5 separate regions of the Homo sapiens genome follow, and all the other regions are linked to region 5. Evidence: promoter capture Hi-C in human tissues and cell types (Jung and others, 2019). All regions are on one chromosome and are shown on one strand. The core of a region is centred on a gene start or on the middle of the fragment in contact, and the rest is flanking DNA. Distances in the headings are between cores, read along the strand shown. Region 1 holds the start of SNRNP35 (small nuclear ribonucleoprotein U11/U12 subunit 35). Region 2 overlaps SBNO1 (strawberry notch homolog 1). Region 3 overlaps SBNO1 (strawberry notch homolog 1). Region 4 overlaps MTRFR (mitochondrial translation release factor in rescue). Region 5 holds the start of OGFOD2 (2-oxoglutarate and iron dependent oxygenase domain containing 2).

The links. Contacts are between HindIII fragments. The study calls those that stand out against the background at their distance.
Region 1: a contact is called between the fragment with the promoter of SNRNP35 here and the fragment with the promoter of OGFOD2 in region 5, in 1 of the 25 tissues and cell types used here (lymphoblastoid cells).
Region 2: a fragment that was not itself captured here is called in contact with the fragment with the promoter of OGFOD2 in region 5 in 3 of the 25 tissues and cell types used here (liver, lymphoblastoid cells and pancreas).
Region 3: a fragment that was not itself captured here is called in contact with the fragment with the promoter of OGFOD2 in region 5 in 1 of the 25 tissues and cell types used here (IMR-90 fibroblasts).
Region 4: a fragment that was not itself captured here is called in contact with the fragment with the promoter of OGFOD2 in region 5 in 2 of the 25 tissues and cell types used here (aorta and dorsolateral prefrontal cortex).

What each region holds. Positions count from the first base shown.
Region 1 is chr12:123,456,689-123,459,388 of GRCh38, forward strand. It overlaps SNRNP35 (small nuclear ribonucleoprotein U11/U12 subunit 35), which reads left to right and starts at 1,451. Exons shown (of 2, transcript NM_022717.4): 1 at 1,451-1,528. RefSeq lists enhancers at 1,138-2,004, 1,679-1,758, 2,005-2,700. The HindIII fragment of the contact is 15,518 bases long and covers 1-2,700 here.
Region 2 is chr12:123,337,139-123,339,838 of GRCh38, forward strand. All of the region lies in intron 5 of SBNO1 (strawberry notch homolog 1), which reads right to left. Among named protein-coding and RNA genes, the nearest start is that of MIR8072, 26 kb to the right of the region's middle. The HindIII fragment of the contact is 4,997 bases long and covers 1-2,700 here.
Region 3 is chr12:123,302,141-123,304,840 of GRCh38, forward strand. It overlaps SBNO1 (strawberry notch homolog 1), which reads right to left. Exons shown (of 32, transcript NM_001167856.3): 29 at 2,442-2,579; 30 at 684-760. Among named protein-coding and RNA genes, the nearest start is that of CDK2AP1, 32 kb to the left of the region's middle. The HindIII fragment of the contact is 7,141 bases long and covers 1-2,700 here.
Region 4 is chr12:123,257,525-123,260,224 of GRCh38, forward strand. It overlaps MTRFR (mitochondrial translation release factor in rescue), which reads left to right. Exons shown (of 3, transcript NM_152269.5): 3 at 1-436. Among named protein-coding and RNA genes, the nearest start is that of CDK2AP1, 13 kb to the right of the region's middle. The HindIII fragment of the contact is 6,691 bases long and covers 1-2,700 here.
Region 5 is chr12:122,973,839-122,976,538 of GRCh38, forward strand. OGFOD2 (2-oxoglutarate and iron dependent oxygenase domain containing 2) reads left to right here and starts at 1,406. Exons shown (of 7, transcript NM_001304833.2): 1 at 1,406-1,545; 2 at 1,973-2,029. The coding sequence starts at 1,414. It also overlaps a transcript of ABCB9 not described here. RefSeq lists an enhancer at 851-1,310. The HindIII fragment of the contact is 12,569 bases long and covers 1-2,700 here.

The sequences.
Region 1 (2,700 bases), core at 201-2,700, 480 kb after region 5:
TCTTTTTAAGGAGAAATAGTATTCCATTGCATGTACTGTACATACCACGTGTGTGTGTGTGTGTGTGTGTGTGTGTGTGTGTGTGTGTGTGTGTGTGTGTTTAAAAGCATAGGGGTCAGCCAGGTGTGGTGGCTCACGCCTGTAATCCCAGCACTTTGGGAGGCCAAGGCAGGCAGATCACTTGAGATCGGGAGTTCAAGACCAGCCTGACCAACATGGAGAAACCCCATCTCTACTAAAAATACAAAATTAGCCGGGCATGGTGGCACATGCCTGTAATCCCAGCTACTCGGAAGGCTGTCAGGAGAATTGCTTGAACCTGGGAGGCGGAGGTTGCGGTCAGCCGAGATCGTGCCATTGCACTCCAATATGGGCAACAAGAGTGAAACTCTGTCTCAAACAAAACAAAACAAAAACAAACAAACAAACAACAACATAGGGGTCTTGCTCTGTTGCCCAGGCTGACAGGCTGAACTTGAACTCCTGGCCTCAAGCCTCACGACTCAGCCTCCCTAGTAGCTGAAACTGCAGATGGCCTCCACTGACAGTGGCTACCATATATTTTCAAACATAAAATTTTAAGCTATAGATTTTTCTTTTTTTTGAGACGGACTTTCACTCTTGTTGTTCAGGCTGGAGTGCAATGGCACCATCTCAGTTCATCGAAACCTCTGCCTCCCGGGTTCAAGTGATTCTCCTGCCTCAGCCTCCTGAGTGGCTGGGATTACAGGCACATGACACCATGTCCAGCTAATTTTGTATTTTTAGTAGAGAAGGGGTTTCTCCATGTTGCTCAGGCTGGTCTCGAACTCCGAACCTCAGGTGATCCGCCCGCCTCGGCCTCCCGAAGTGCTGGGATTACAGGCGTGAGGCATGCCACCTGGCCTTTTTTTTTTTTTTTTTTTTTATAAAGAAATTGGGGCCGGGCGCGATGGCTCACGCCTGTAATCCCAGCACTTTGGGAGGCCGAGGCGGGCGGATCACTTGAGGTCAGAAGTTCGAGACCAGCCTGGCCAACATGGCAAAACCCTGTCTCTACTAAAAATACAAAAAATAGCCGGGCGTGGTGGCGGGCGCCAGTAATCCCAGCTACGCGGGAGGCTGAGGCAGGAAAATCACTTGAACCCGGGAGGCGGAGGTTGCAGTGAGCCGAGTTCGCACCACTGCACTCCAGCCTGGGCGACAGAGGGAGTCTCCGTCTCAAGAAAAAATAATAAATAAGAATAAATAAATAATAAAGTAAAATGTCCCAGGTAACTGCATATTCGATAGTCTTTCTTTCAACTTAGTTGTTGAATTAGCAATTTTTCTCTTAAAAAAATTTTTTTTTAGCTTATTGTCTTCGGAGATGATAACACCCTCGTTGCGTGGGAGTAAAATTTTAAAGGTAAAACAAACAGGAAACGAGCGTCGGCGGCGAATCTGCTGCTACCAATGTAAAGGTCAGGCCGAGGCCGGCGCGGAGAATCTGCTGTCGCCTGCAGCTGCTCGCCTGTCTCCGTCGGAAGGGAGCCCAAGCTTTGCAGAGGTGAGTGGAAGCGGCTTGGAAGGAGCGGGCCCCACGCCGGAGAGAAGGAAGAGGGAGTGCGGCCCAGACGCTGTGCCCGCGCTTGTGTGGGGCGCCATGTTGAAACCTGGCAAAGGGGACGACATTCTGGGTTGCGTTGCGGGGAGTGGGGACGAGAGCTGGATTGGAAGGATGGCGCCTTACTCCCTGCGGCCCCCAGAGAAGGAGAGGGGCGGGGGAGCGGCCTCGAGGGTTGGCGGCCAGGCTGCAGGCTGGATGGGAAGGATAGGCTTTTCCACAGAAACTTAGGTGTTTGCCTCCGAGGCCCACTGCGCATGCCCTGGAGGGCTCTGTGGGTTCCGCCTTCAGTTTTGCTTTTCACAGGAGGGGCAAAGTCTTTTTTTTTTTTTTTTCCTTTTTGAGACAGTCTTGCTCTGTCGCCCGGGCTGGAGTGCAGTGGTGCGATCTCGGTTCACTGCAACCTCCGCCTCCTGGGTTCAAGCGATTCCACTGCCTCAGCTTCCCGAGTAGCTGAGACTACAGGCGCCCGCCACCACGCCCTGCTAATTTTTTGTATTTTACTGGAGACGGGGTTTCACCATGTTAGCCAGGATGGTCTCGATCTCCTGTCCTCGTGATCCACCCGCCTCGGCCTCCCAAAGTGCTGGGATTACAGCCGTCAGCCACCGTGCCCGGCCAGGAGGGGCAGAGTCTTACCCCGAAGACCCAGGAAGGAGAGGCTTCATTTATTTTTTTGTTTTTCCCCAGAGACAGGGAGTCGCCCAGGCTGGAGAGCGGTGGCGCGATCTCGGCTCACTGCAGCGTCGACATTTCGGGTCAAGCAGTCCTCCCGCCTCAGCCTCTCAAGTATCTGGGACCACAGGCGCGACCCCACGCCCGGAGAATTGATTATTGATTGATTGATTGAAACGGGGTCTCACTTTGTTGCCCAGGCTGGTCTCGAATTTCTGGGCTCAAGCGATCCTCCAGCCTCGGCCTCTCAAAGTGCTGGTATTACAGGCGTGAGCCAGCGCGTGCCTGGCCAAAAATTTTCTAAATTTGTATAATAATTTATAATTGTAATGCATTTTTATAGACACCATATGATCTAATCTTCACAAAAACCTAGTGAAGTGACATTTAGCTACATTTCACAATAAGAATCCTGAAGCTCAAAATTTACTGACCTCAAA
Region 2 (2,700 bases), core at 20-2,519, 360 kb after region 5:
TATTTTCCAAACCCTGGCACATTTGAGTTGGGGAGCTATTGAGGATTACACTGAGAAAACAGAAGTAAACCCAGACTGTCCTCGGCAAACCAAGTGAATGGTCACCACGGTTATGCTTCCCTTTTCTTCCTCTACAGGATCTTAAAGGAATAAAGGAAGATCCGGAATAAGCCACTTTTCACTACCAGTACAATCATTAGGCAACTGTTTATTAGCATGCACTTGTTCAGGGAAGAATATAAAGAAACTGTTGTGAAACTCAGTATGCCAAGGGAAGAGGACAACAAAAACCTACAGGTTAAGGCAAATTAAGGCAAGATCGAGACAGCATTAAAAGTGAAGGACAGGCTCTTTTTTCATTTACCTCAGAATCTAGAGCAGAATATGGTTGCAAATAGATAACAAACGTGAAAAGGAAAAGAAGTGGGACATAACCATCCAATCAACATTAACCTATGGAGTCTTTAGATAAAATCTAAAAACTTGGAATGTTCTCAGAAATTATGCTAAAATAAAACTCAATTTCGGAAATTCGAGACAAAACAGGACTGGCCAAATGAATAGATTTGAATCCCAATTCTGCTGTTATTTAATTGTGTAGTCTGTTTTTTAATTTAGGCAAATTACCTAAATTCTGGGTCCTCTCCACCCCCACCGTCTAACCCTGTCCTCGCTTATAAAATAAAAATGTATTCTATGTTAAGATAAGCAGCCTCCTTTCTCCCTCCATCCTTTATTCTCCTACCTATAGTTTTTTAAAATCATCATAAAATTGATGATAATTGAATAACTGAAGGATAAGTTGGTAATACTGAAGGACCACTATATCCAGGGAACAAACAAGTAATACCTTGAAGCCAGGTGCATGTGAGATAGCAACTGACATCAAATTTAGGTCAAAGAGATAACTCGGGTGAGGGAGACCACGGTACCTGGGAAATGTTTGCCCAACATACCATGTAGATGTTCACTACACAACGCTGGGCAAATCTTCCTAGATGGGGAACGTGGGCCTGGGGTTGTCAGGTACTCCCATTTTTCAAAATAACCGGGAAATCAGGATTTGTATATGTCAGCAAACAAATTCAAAATTCTTCAAAATACCATGAAGGCCAAACAAAATACATTTGTCAGCCAGGCATGGTGGCTCACGCCTGTAATCCCAGCACTTGGGCAAGCAGGGGTGGGCGGATCACCTGAGGTCAGGAGTTCAAGACCAGCCTGGCCAACATGGCAAAACCCCGTCTCTACTAAAAAATACAGGCCAGGCACAGTGGCTCACGCCTGAAATCCCAGCACTTTGGGAGGCCGAGGCGGGTGAATCACGAGGTCAGGAGTTCAAGACCAGCCTGGCCAAGGTAGTGAAACCCCATCTCTATTAAAAAATACAAAAGAAAATTAGCAGGGCGTAGTGGCGGGCGCCTGTAATCCCAGCTACTTGGGAGGCTGAGGAAGAGAATTGCTTGAGCCCGGGAAGGGGAGGTTGCAGTGAGCCAAGACTGCACCAATGCACTCCAGCCTGTGACAGAGCGAGACTCCATCTCAAAATAAATAAACAAAATAAAAGAAACAAAAATTATCTGGGTGTGGTGGTGGTGGTGGGGGGCGCCTGTAATCCCAGCTGCTCAGGAGGCTGAGGCAGAAGAATCACTTGAACCTGGGAGGCAGAAGTTGCAGTGAGCTGAGATTGCACCACTGCCCTCCAGCCTGGGTGACAGCAAGACACCGTCTAAACACACACACACACACACCCCGACACACACACACACACACGCCCCCCCCCCCCTCCCCGACTAGTTTGGTTGATGGGCTATCAGTTTGCAGTCTCTCTGAGATGTTACTTAACTGCTAAGCCAATAAAAAACTTTTGGTATATAATGGACTGAAATGGAAATGTGAGAACCACATAAAACATTTCTTGAAGAAATATGCATTCTTAGTTTCCAAAAATCACCTTCCAAGTGCTGTTGGTAGACAATCACTAAGTAAACTGGGTACCGCCAGTAGCACTATTGTTCTCCTGGTTCCCATTCAAAACCTCAGCTACAGTTTGCTGCACTGTCTCCAATTCCATATTCTAGAACCAAGTCCCAAAATTCTTTTGGTATCGTTATGTACAGTCATCTCTTTTTTTCCTTTCCCCTCTCCGTTTTTCAATCCCCTCTGCAAGGTCTCTAGTACCCCTTCTTACTTCCCCCTTAGGTTAACCAACTTTCCAACCTCTCTCTTTTGCCTACTCCTACTCATCCCGAATCTGTCTTCCCTACCCCTTTACTCAGTCTGCACCCCAACTTCTCCTGAATCACTAACAGGTCCCTCCATGTCTACTGGCTCAATGGTGCTAGACTAAGTCCAAAGTCCTTCAAACTCAATTCAGCACAGGGCACCTTGGCCTCCCAGCACTTTGGGAGGCCGAGCTGGAGGGATCACTTGAGGTCAGGTATTCGAGACCAGCCTGGCCAATGTGGTAAAACCCCGTCTCTACTAAAAACACAAAAATTAGCCAGGGCTGGTGGTGGGCACCTGTAATCCCACCTACTCAGGAAGCTGAGGCAGAAGAATCGCTCGAACCTGGGAGGCGGAGATTGCAGTGAGCCAAGATTGCACCACTACACTCCAGCCTGGTCAACAGAGCAAGACTCCATCTCAAAAACAACAACAACAATAAAAACCTCAATTCAGGACCCTCCATGGAGCCCA
Region 3 (2,700 bases), core at 126-2,625, 330 kb after region 5:
CAGGCTGGTCTCGAACTCCCGACCTTAGATTATCCACCTGCCTTGGCCTCCCAAAGTGCTGGGATTACAGGCGTAAGCCACCACACCTGGCCTTATTGTTTTTTTTTTTGTTTTTTTTTTTTAATGGAGTCTCGCTCTGTCCCCCAGGCTGGAGTGCAATGGCGCAATTTTGACTCACTGCAACTTCCACCTTCCGGGTTCAAGCGATTCTCCTGCCTCAGCCTCCCAAGTAGCTGGGATTACAGGTGCCTGCCATCACACCGGCTAATTGTTTTGTATTTTTAGTAGAGATGGGGTTTCACCATGTTGGCCAGGATGGTCTTGAACTCCTGACCTCAGGTGATCCGCCCACCTCAGCCTCCCAAAGTGCTGGGATTACAGGCGTGAGCCACCACACCCAGCCGTGAAAAAGCAAGTTCTAATATGAAGGATAACTGTTAAGGTCATGCTGCCAGACAACAGTTGGCTGGAAATAAGAAAGCATCAGTGAAGAGTAAGGAGGTACATAAACTAAACAGTTTCTAGTCTACAACTGTCCAGTAAATATTCCTGATGGAACACACCACGCCTGACAATACTTAATCTGTTAGTTAATTCATGAGGACATACTGATAAAGAGTGAAGGTGTATTTAAATCTCAATTAAATTTTGGAAAATTTGGTAGGAAACACGAAAATACTAACCAATAAGCATGAGTACAAGTATCTGCAGATGAATTATACTGATCTAACCAGTGCATCAGGGCATCATCTGAGACGACCTGTAAAAATGAGAAGAATTTCATTGAAAACAGTATTGCTTTAAATAAACTGGTTACCTAGTCTGGTCTGTAATTCTAGAGGTAGCCAATTTAAAATAATCTCTACACAAAAAGCCTAACCCTTGCTATTAACTGAATCTGAACGCCATTTGAAAAGCTCTGTCATGCTGGTTCCTCTTATGTAATACATTTTTCAAATAACTACTTAACTATAATTGTTTTCAAATCAGAATGGCTACAAATAATAATATAAGGTAATATTAATAAAATAAAACCTAATAGTAAATGTTAGGAAAAGTGGTCGCTTAACATTTTCTATAAATCATTGCAAAATATAAACATAGAGGCATCCTCACAATAAAACTAAGAGGTAGTGAGAAGGGCTTTAAACATTCTAACTTTTGTGATTAGCACTGGAAGCTTCCTTTACTGAAGAGATAAGCTGTTTCAAATAATCATTTTAGGCTGGGCACGGTGGCTCATGCCTATAATCCCAGCACTTTGGGAGGCTGAGGCGGGTGGATCACTTAAGGCCAGGAGTTCAAGACCAGCCTGGCTAACATGGTGAAATTCCGTCTCTACTAAACATACAAAAAAAAACTAGCCAGGTGTGTGGCACATGCCTATAATCCCAGCTACTTGGGAAGCTGAGGCATGAGAATCACTTGAACCCGGGAGGCGGAGGTTACAGTGAGCCAAGATCGCGCCACTACACTCCCAGCCTGGGTAACAGAACCTTAGAAGTTTCTTAAGGCTGGTAACATTAAGACTGTGATATTAGCATAACAAAAGTTGACACTTTCCTTAAACCAGGCTGGGTGCGGTGGCTGACACCTGTTAATTCTAGCACTTTGGGAGGCAGAAGTGGACAATCACTTGAGCCCATGAGTTCCAGACCAGCTCAGCCTCTGCAACACAGTGAGACCTCATTTAAAAAAAAAGAAAGAAAGAAAAAGAAAATATAATTTCATACCTAGAAAAGCTATCTTAAACAATTTCAATATATTATAAAATAAGTATTCTTTTTTTTTTTTTTTTTTTTTTGAGACGGAGTCTTGCTCTGTCTCCCTGGCTGGAGTGCAGTGGTGCAATCTCGGCTTACTGCAAGCCTCCTCCACTTCACAGGTTAAAGTGATTCTCCTGCCTCAGCCTCCTGAGTAACTGGGATTACAGGCATGCAACACTACGCCTGGCTATCTTTTCTATCTTTAGTAGAGATGAGGTTTCGCCATATGGGCCAGGCTGGTCTCAAACTCCTGACCTCAGGTGATCCAACCGCCTTGGCCTCCCAAAGTACTAAGATTACAGGCGTGAGCCACTGTGCCCAGCTAAAGTAAGTATTCTTTTTTTTGAGACGAAGTTTCGCGCTTGTTGCCCGGGCTGGAGAGCAATAGCGTGATCTTGGCTCACTGCAACCTCCGCCTCCCGGGTTCAAGTGATTCTCCTACCTCGGCCTCCCAAGTGGCTGGAATTACAGGTATGCATCACCATCCTGGGATAATATTTTGCATTTTTAGTAGAGACGGGGTTTCTCCATGTTGGTCAGGCTGGTCTCGAACTCCTGACCTCAGGTGATCTGCCCACCTCGGCCTCCCAAAGTGCTGAGATTACAGGTGTGAGCCACATTGCCTGGCCCAAAGTAAGTATTCCTATATAATATAATGTACAAATGAAAAAATACCTTCTTATATTTCTTTTTTAGATCAGCATAAATTTCTAATTTGAGCTGCTTCCCAGTATTTGGTCGATAAACTAAGAAAAGTTTCTTTTTAGGATTCACTTCTTTAACTAAGATGGCAGTTTTCTTGTTGTTCCTTATCTGTTTAAAGAAAATGACAAAATATAAAGATTTTATAATACACACTTTAAGACATGTTTCTGTACCATCACGTCAGCAAACATAATCATTTGAGACTATAACACTAAGTAAGTACACGGTA
Region 4 (2,700 bases), core at 70-2,569, 280 kb after region 5:
TCAAAAAAAAAATAAAACTAGTTCAAGTGCAATGACACACGCCTATAATCCCAGCACCTTGGGAGGCTAAGACAGGAAGATCACCTGAGCCCAGGAGCTCAAGATTGCAGTGAGCTATGAACACCACTGCACTCCACCTGTCCACTTGTTCTTGTGTGACAGAACAAGACCCTGTCTCTAAAAAATAAGATAAAACCATAAAGAAACACAGTCAGTACTATACAAGAATAATGGCTACTTCTAGAGGGAAGGAGTTGTCATTGTGATGAGGCACTTGGAGGGGTTCTGGGGTGCCTGACAAAGTTCTGTTTCTTCACCTGGGTGGTAGTTAGAAGGGTGTCCCCGTATTTCAAATTGTACCTTTGTGAGATTGTATGTTTTGTAATAATAAAATTTTTTTTGTAATTAGTAAAGTCAATTTTTATGGAGAACTGGAGAATGGAGTCAAACATTAATAGCATTTCTTGGCAACTTGCCATCTGCTGGGAAGCTGCTGCCCAGTGACACTTAAAAGTCAGTTATCCCCATGTCAGCTCAAGACAGTAAGAGAAAACAAGGGCCGGGCATGGTGGCTCACGCCTGTAATCCCAGCACTTTGGGAGGCTGGGGCAGGCGGATCATGGAAGTCAGGAGTTTGAGACCAGCCTGACCAACATGGTGAAACCCCATCTCTACTAAAAATACAAAAATTAGCCAGGCGTGGCAGCACACGCTTGTAATCCCAGCTACTTGGGAGGCTGAGGCAAGAGAATTGCTTGAATCTGGGAGGCGAGGTTGCAGTGAGCCAAGATTGCGCCATTGCACTCCAGCGTGAGCAACAGAGCAAGACTGTCTAAAAAAAAAAAAAAAAAGAGAGAAAATAAGAGGGTTGGAAGAGCTAAAGGCTCTGTTCCTTGTCCATGTGCTCTATTAGCTTCTAGGCTGTATGATGCCCAGTTGTGCCTCTGATGTAGAAACAAACACATTCCCTGCACGTTGATTTGCAAGATTTGTAAAGGTGAGGTTCCAGAATCTGATTTGCTTGTAAATTTACGTCACTTAAGCTGGATTTTACCTTACAGTTGTTTTTCTTTTAAAGCCATGCTTTATAGCTTGGCTTGTTAGAACTCTTCTGGAGTCCACGTAGAAAACAAATAGGGAAAAATGCTGAGAGGTGAGAAAGCCATTGGGAGATTGCCAGTTGCAGGGCCTCAGTTGTGCAGTCTGTCCAGCAGGCCTAGGCGGCATGTCCAGTAGGCCTAGGTGGCATGTCCAGTGCATACATCCAAGCACACCTTTCTCTTTGAGGCTGCCAATGAAGGCTCTTCTCACCTCAGTGACAGCTTTGGATGCTTACACATTCAATGCAGGGCTCATTCTACACCTCCTGTTGCGAGTGTACAGGACCCTTCCCCAGCCCAAACGCCCTGTAGAAAATAAAGGCTCTAGAACAACACCTAAGAAACCAGTAAGAGTGGGAGGGGAAATTTGGAGCTGGAGATAAGGGAGAATGGTTTCCGTTTGTCTCCTCTCTCATACCTTTGCAACTTTCTGCCACATGCAGGAAGGGGACACAGCACCCATTTCGCTAGAGCCTGTTCCTGCTGGCCTTCAGCCTTGTCATGGCTGAGAATTCGCCTCATGCCTGCATCAAAGAAAGACAAGTCTCTCTCATTTGTCTTTGTCTACTGCTCAGCAAAGCAAATTCTCATTGCAGGTATTTAGGGCCTAAGGTATAGAGTAAGAATTAAAATCCCTTTGGGAGGCACTGTCAGAGACCACCACGTGGACTCTCAACACATCCAGTGCAGCCCATTTTTTCCCTGGCACCAGAGCAGATAATTCTTCCAGTGAGCACCATATGAAGTAGCTTGAAGTTAGGAGCCGTACTTTATGAAAAAGATTCCTGTAGCACCCACCAAAAGCCCACAGGATAAGCACCTACGAACTGAGAATGGCCTAACCATGGGGTAACAGGCCAACTCAATAATACTGCTTCTGGCCGGGCGTGGTGGCTCACGCCTGTAAACCCAGCACTTTGGGAGGCCAAGGCGGCTGGGTCACCTGAGGTCAGAAGTTGGAGACCAGCCTGACCAACATGGTAAAATCCCATCTCTACTAAAAATACAAAAATTAGCTGGGTGTGGTGGCACGCTCCTGTAATCCAGCTACTCGGGAGGCTAAGCTGGGAAAATCGCTTGAACCTGGGAGGCAGAGATTGCAGTGAACCAACATCAAGCCACTGCACTCTAGCCTAGGCAACAGAGGGAGATTCCATCTAAAAAAAAAAAAATTTTTTTTTTAAAAACTGCTGCTGCTATTTTTTTTTCCTAGCATACACTTAAGTTTGCTGCACTTAAAATACACCCATAATGCAACTTCACTTTATCCCTACCTCTGACTTAGCAAACACATTCTTTCCCCAGCCAACTGTGCTAATGATATCACCAAAATGTTTCCGTGTCAGATGGGAAAATACAGTTTGAACAGGCATCTCCTACCTCTTGTAAAAGGTAAAGTAGAGGTTCCTCTCCAAAGACTTTCCTCCCCATTTAATTTGGAATAAACGGTAACTTCTCTTCGAAGCAAAATTTATTCAAAGACCTGTGCTAACATTCCTAATTATCTGCTAGCCGTGGTAAAGAAATCAATGTACTTTATGTTCTTAGCTCCCACAATTTAGCCTAAATATTTGTCCTGGCATGCTTACACTGGTCGGAG
Region 5 (2,700 bases), core at 156-2,655:
CGACAGAGCAAGACTCCGTCTCAAAACAAACAAACAAACAAACAAAAAACAAAAAAATTAGCTGGGCGTGGTGGCGCCTGCCGATAATCCCAGCTATTCGGGAGGCTGAGGCAGGAAAACTGCTTGAATCCGGGAGGCAGAGGTTGCAGTGAGCGGAGATCGCGCCACTGCACTCCAGCCTGGGTGAAACTCTATCTCAAAAAGTAAATAAACAAATAAATAAACTGATAGGTACAACACACTCATCTTGCAAACTGCTGCAAACGGAGAGGGGGTGAGGGTGGGGTGGGGTGCTGCATGTGCCAGGCCTGCCTGGTGGGTGGCTGGGGAGCCGACCTGCCCTGGGCCTCCTGGGGAAAAAGGGCAGTTAGGCGGGTAATGAACATTGATCTGGGGAAATGGATCCTTTCCTAGATAGCAGGGCCTCTCACTATCACTGGGCAATCAAGACGACTGTAAAACGTTAAACACCTTCTCGGGCCGGGCAGCTCTGCACGAGAAAACCCCAAATCCCACATACTTCCACCACTCCCAGAAGCCCTGTGGTGGTTAACTGGGGAACTCTGTAGGGTTCAAACGCCATATTTGCCCCTTACTGGATGTGTGACCTGCGGCGGGTCCCTGTGCCTCTCTGGGTCTCAGTTTCCTCATCTGTAAGACGGTGATATAATAGTACCTAGCTCAAAGGTTTAATGCTGGTAGATTCCTGAGCAAAGGTCCGGGGAGAGAAGAGGCTCGGTCTGCAAGAGTTGTCATTTGTTGGCTGCGGTGAGACCACGCCCCGTCGCCCTCCCACACCTGACCCCGCCCTCCCGCGTCCATTGGGAACGCCACCGGAAGTAATGCGAGACGGAGCGTTTTGGTGGAGACACTCACTGGGGCAATCTGAGGTAATCCAACAGACTGTGGCGGAGGGACCGGAAGCGCCAGGCAGGGACCCGGGGTAGATGCTAAATCCAAACTGAAACGTACAGGGCTGGATGATTGAAGCACCAGCGGGAACTAGTCGGACCTCCGAGCTCTTTAAACTGTCCTCAGCTCGGCTGGTTCTCCACGAGCTCCGGGCAGACGGCGGGGGGTGGGTCGGCGTTTAAGTCAAAGGCCTTGGGGCTCCGAGTCCCTTCCTCTCCCCGTCCTGTGAAGGCACGACCCAGTTCAGCTGTCTGTAAAGTGGAGCCATTAGTCCCTGCCTCGTAGTGGGAAAACTGGGAGGCGGAACGAGGAGGCCGCCGGTCCCAACCCGGCCCAGGAGCATCTTTCTCCGCAGACCGTTTCCTGGCGAGGTGCGTCTTCGTCCTTTTCCGCCCTTGGGAACTTAGAGCGGCCCCTTGGCCGCTGGTTCCGCGCCTCCCGCGGTTGGGGGCGTGCCCGAAGTCTCTCTACGGAAGCTGGTAGGGCTGTGGGTGCTTCACTATGGCGACGGTGGGGGCTCCGCGGCACTTCTGCCGCTGCGCCTGCTTCTGCACCGATAACTTGTACGTGGCGCGCTATGGGCTGCACGTGCGCTTCCGAGGCGAGCAGCAGCTGCGCCGGGACTACGGCCCGGTGAGTGGCCGCTGTCGTCCCTACGGAGCAGTGGGCAGAGAGGGGTAGTGGAGGAGGGAAGTTCGTCCCCAGGGTCGTTTGCTTTGCGCACGCCGCGCACCGTATCTTCAAATACAAGAATGACGGCCTCTCTCTGCCTCGGTTTTCTCACCGTAAAGGGGTAATAGTATCTCCCTGTGAGATTGTGAGGAAGGAATGAACAAGCATGTAGGGTGCTTAGGACAGGGCCGGGCTCAGCTTGCCGCCTCACAGCAACACCAGCCCGGAGCCCTGTCCTGAGCTTGACAGGGTTCCGCAGTTCATTCTCTCCATGATCCTTTGAGGTCGGGGCTCCTCTCCCCATTTTAAGCAGGGGAAACTGAGGCTTAGAGAGTGAAGGGATTTCCTCAGGTCATACAGTCATGCTCAGTGTTCTTTCTGCTCCCAGATCCTGCGCAGCCGAGGCTGTGTTAGCGCCAAGGACTTCCAGCAGCTGTTAGCAGAGGTACCAGTCCCCTGCCCCTGCACAGCTCCTCCTCGTTAGATTTGTGTCCGCAGCTTGAGGACACAGCTTGAGCCTAGCCTCAGTCCCTGATCCCTGAAGGGTCACTTAGGCCCTCACTTTCCTCCTTCCTGCCCCCCACTCATCCCTCCACACCTGAGTCTTGGCACCAGGAGAGAGAAGGGGAAATGCTAAGTTGCTAAGTTGCCTAGTCATGCCGTTCTTAACAGCTCTGTGAGATAAGCACAAGCACCACTCTCATTTTGGATTGAGAAGCTGAGGCTTAAAGAGGGATCCCTTGCCCAAGCTTTTACAGCAGGAGCAGATGTGATCCCAGCCACAGCTTCCAGGCCCCTGGGCTCCTCACACCTTACCATATACCCCGCAGGCTGCTGCCAGGGCTGCTGCCCCACTCCCTCCTCCTCCTTCCCCTGGAGTCAGTGGTGGGAAGCTTCCCAGGAGAGTCCTCAGCAACCTCTGGAACACAGGACTTGGCCATGACTGTCTCCTGTCCCTGTGTGGGCCCAGATGGTTGAGGTACATCTAGGGGTTCTCATCCCAGCTAGGCTCAGGTTGGGGCAGCCTGAAACAGGATGGGTCCCCTTCTAGAAGTCCCTTTCAGCTAACAGTCTGGAACTTGCAGTTGACCCAGATAGATTCAGGAGTGTAGGCTA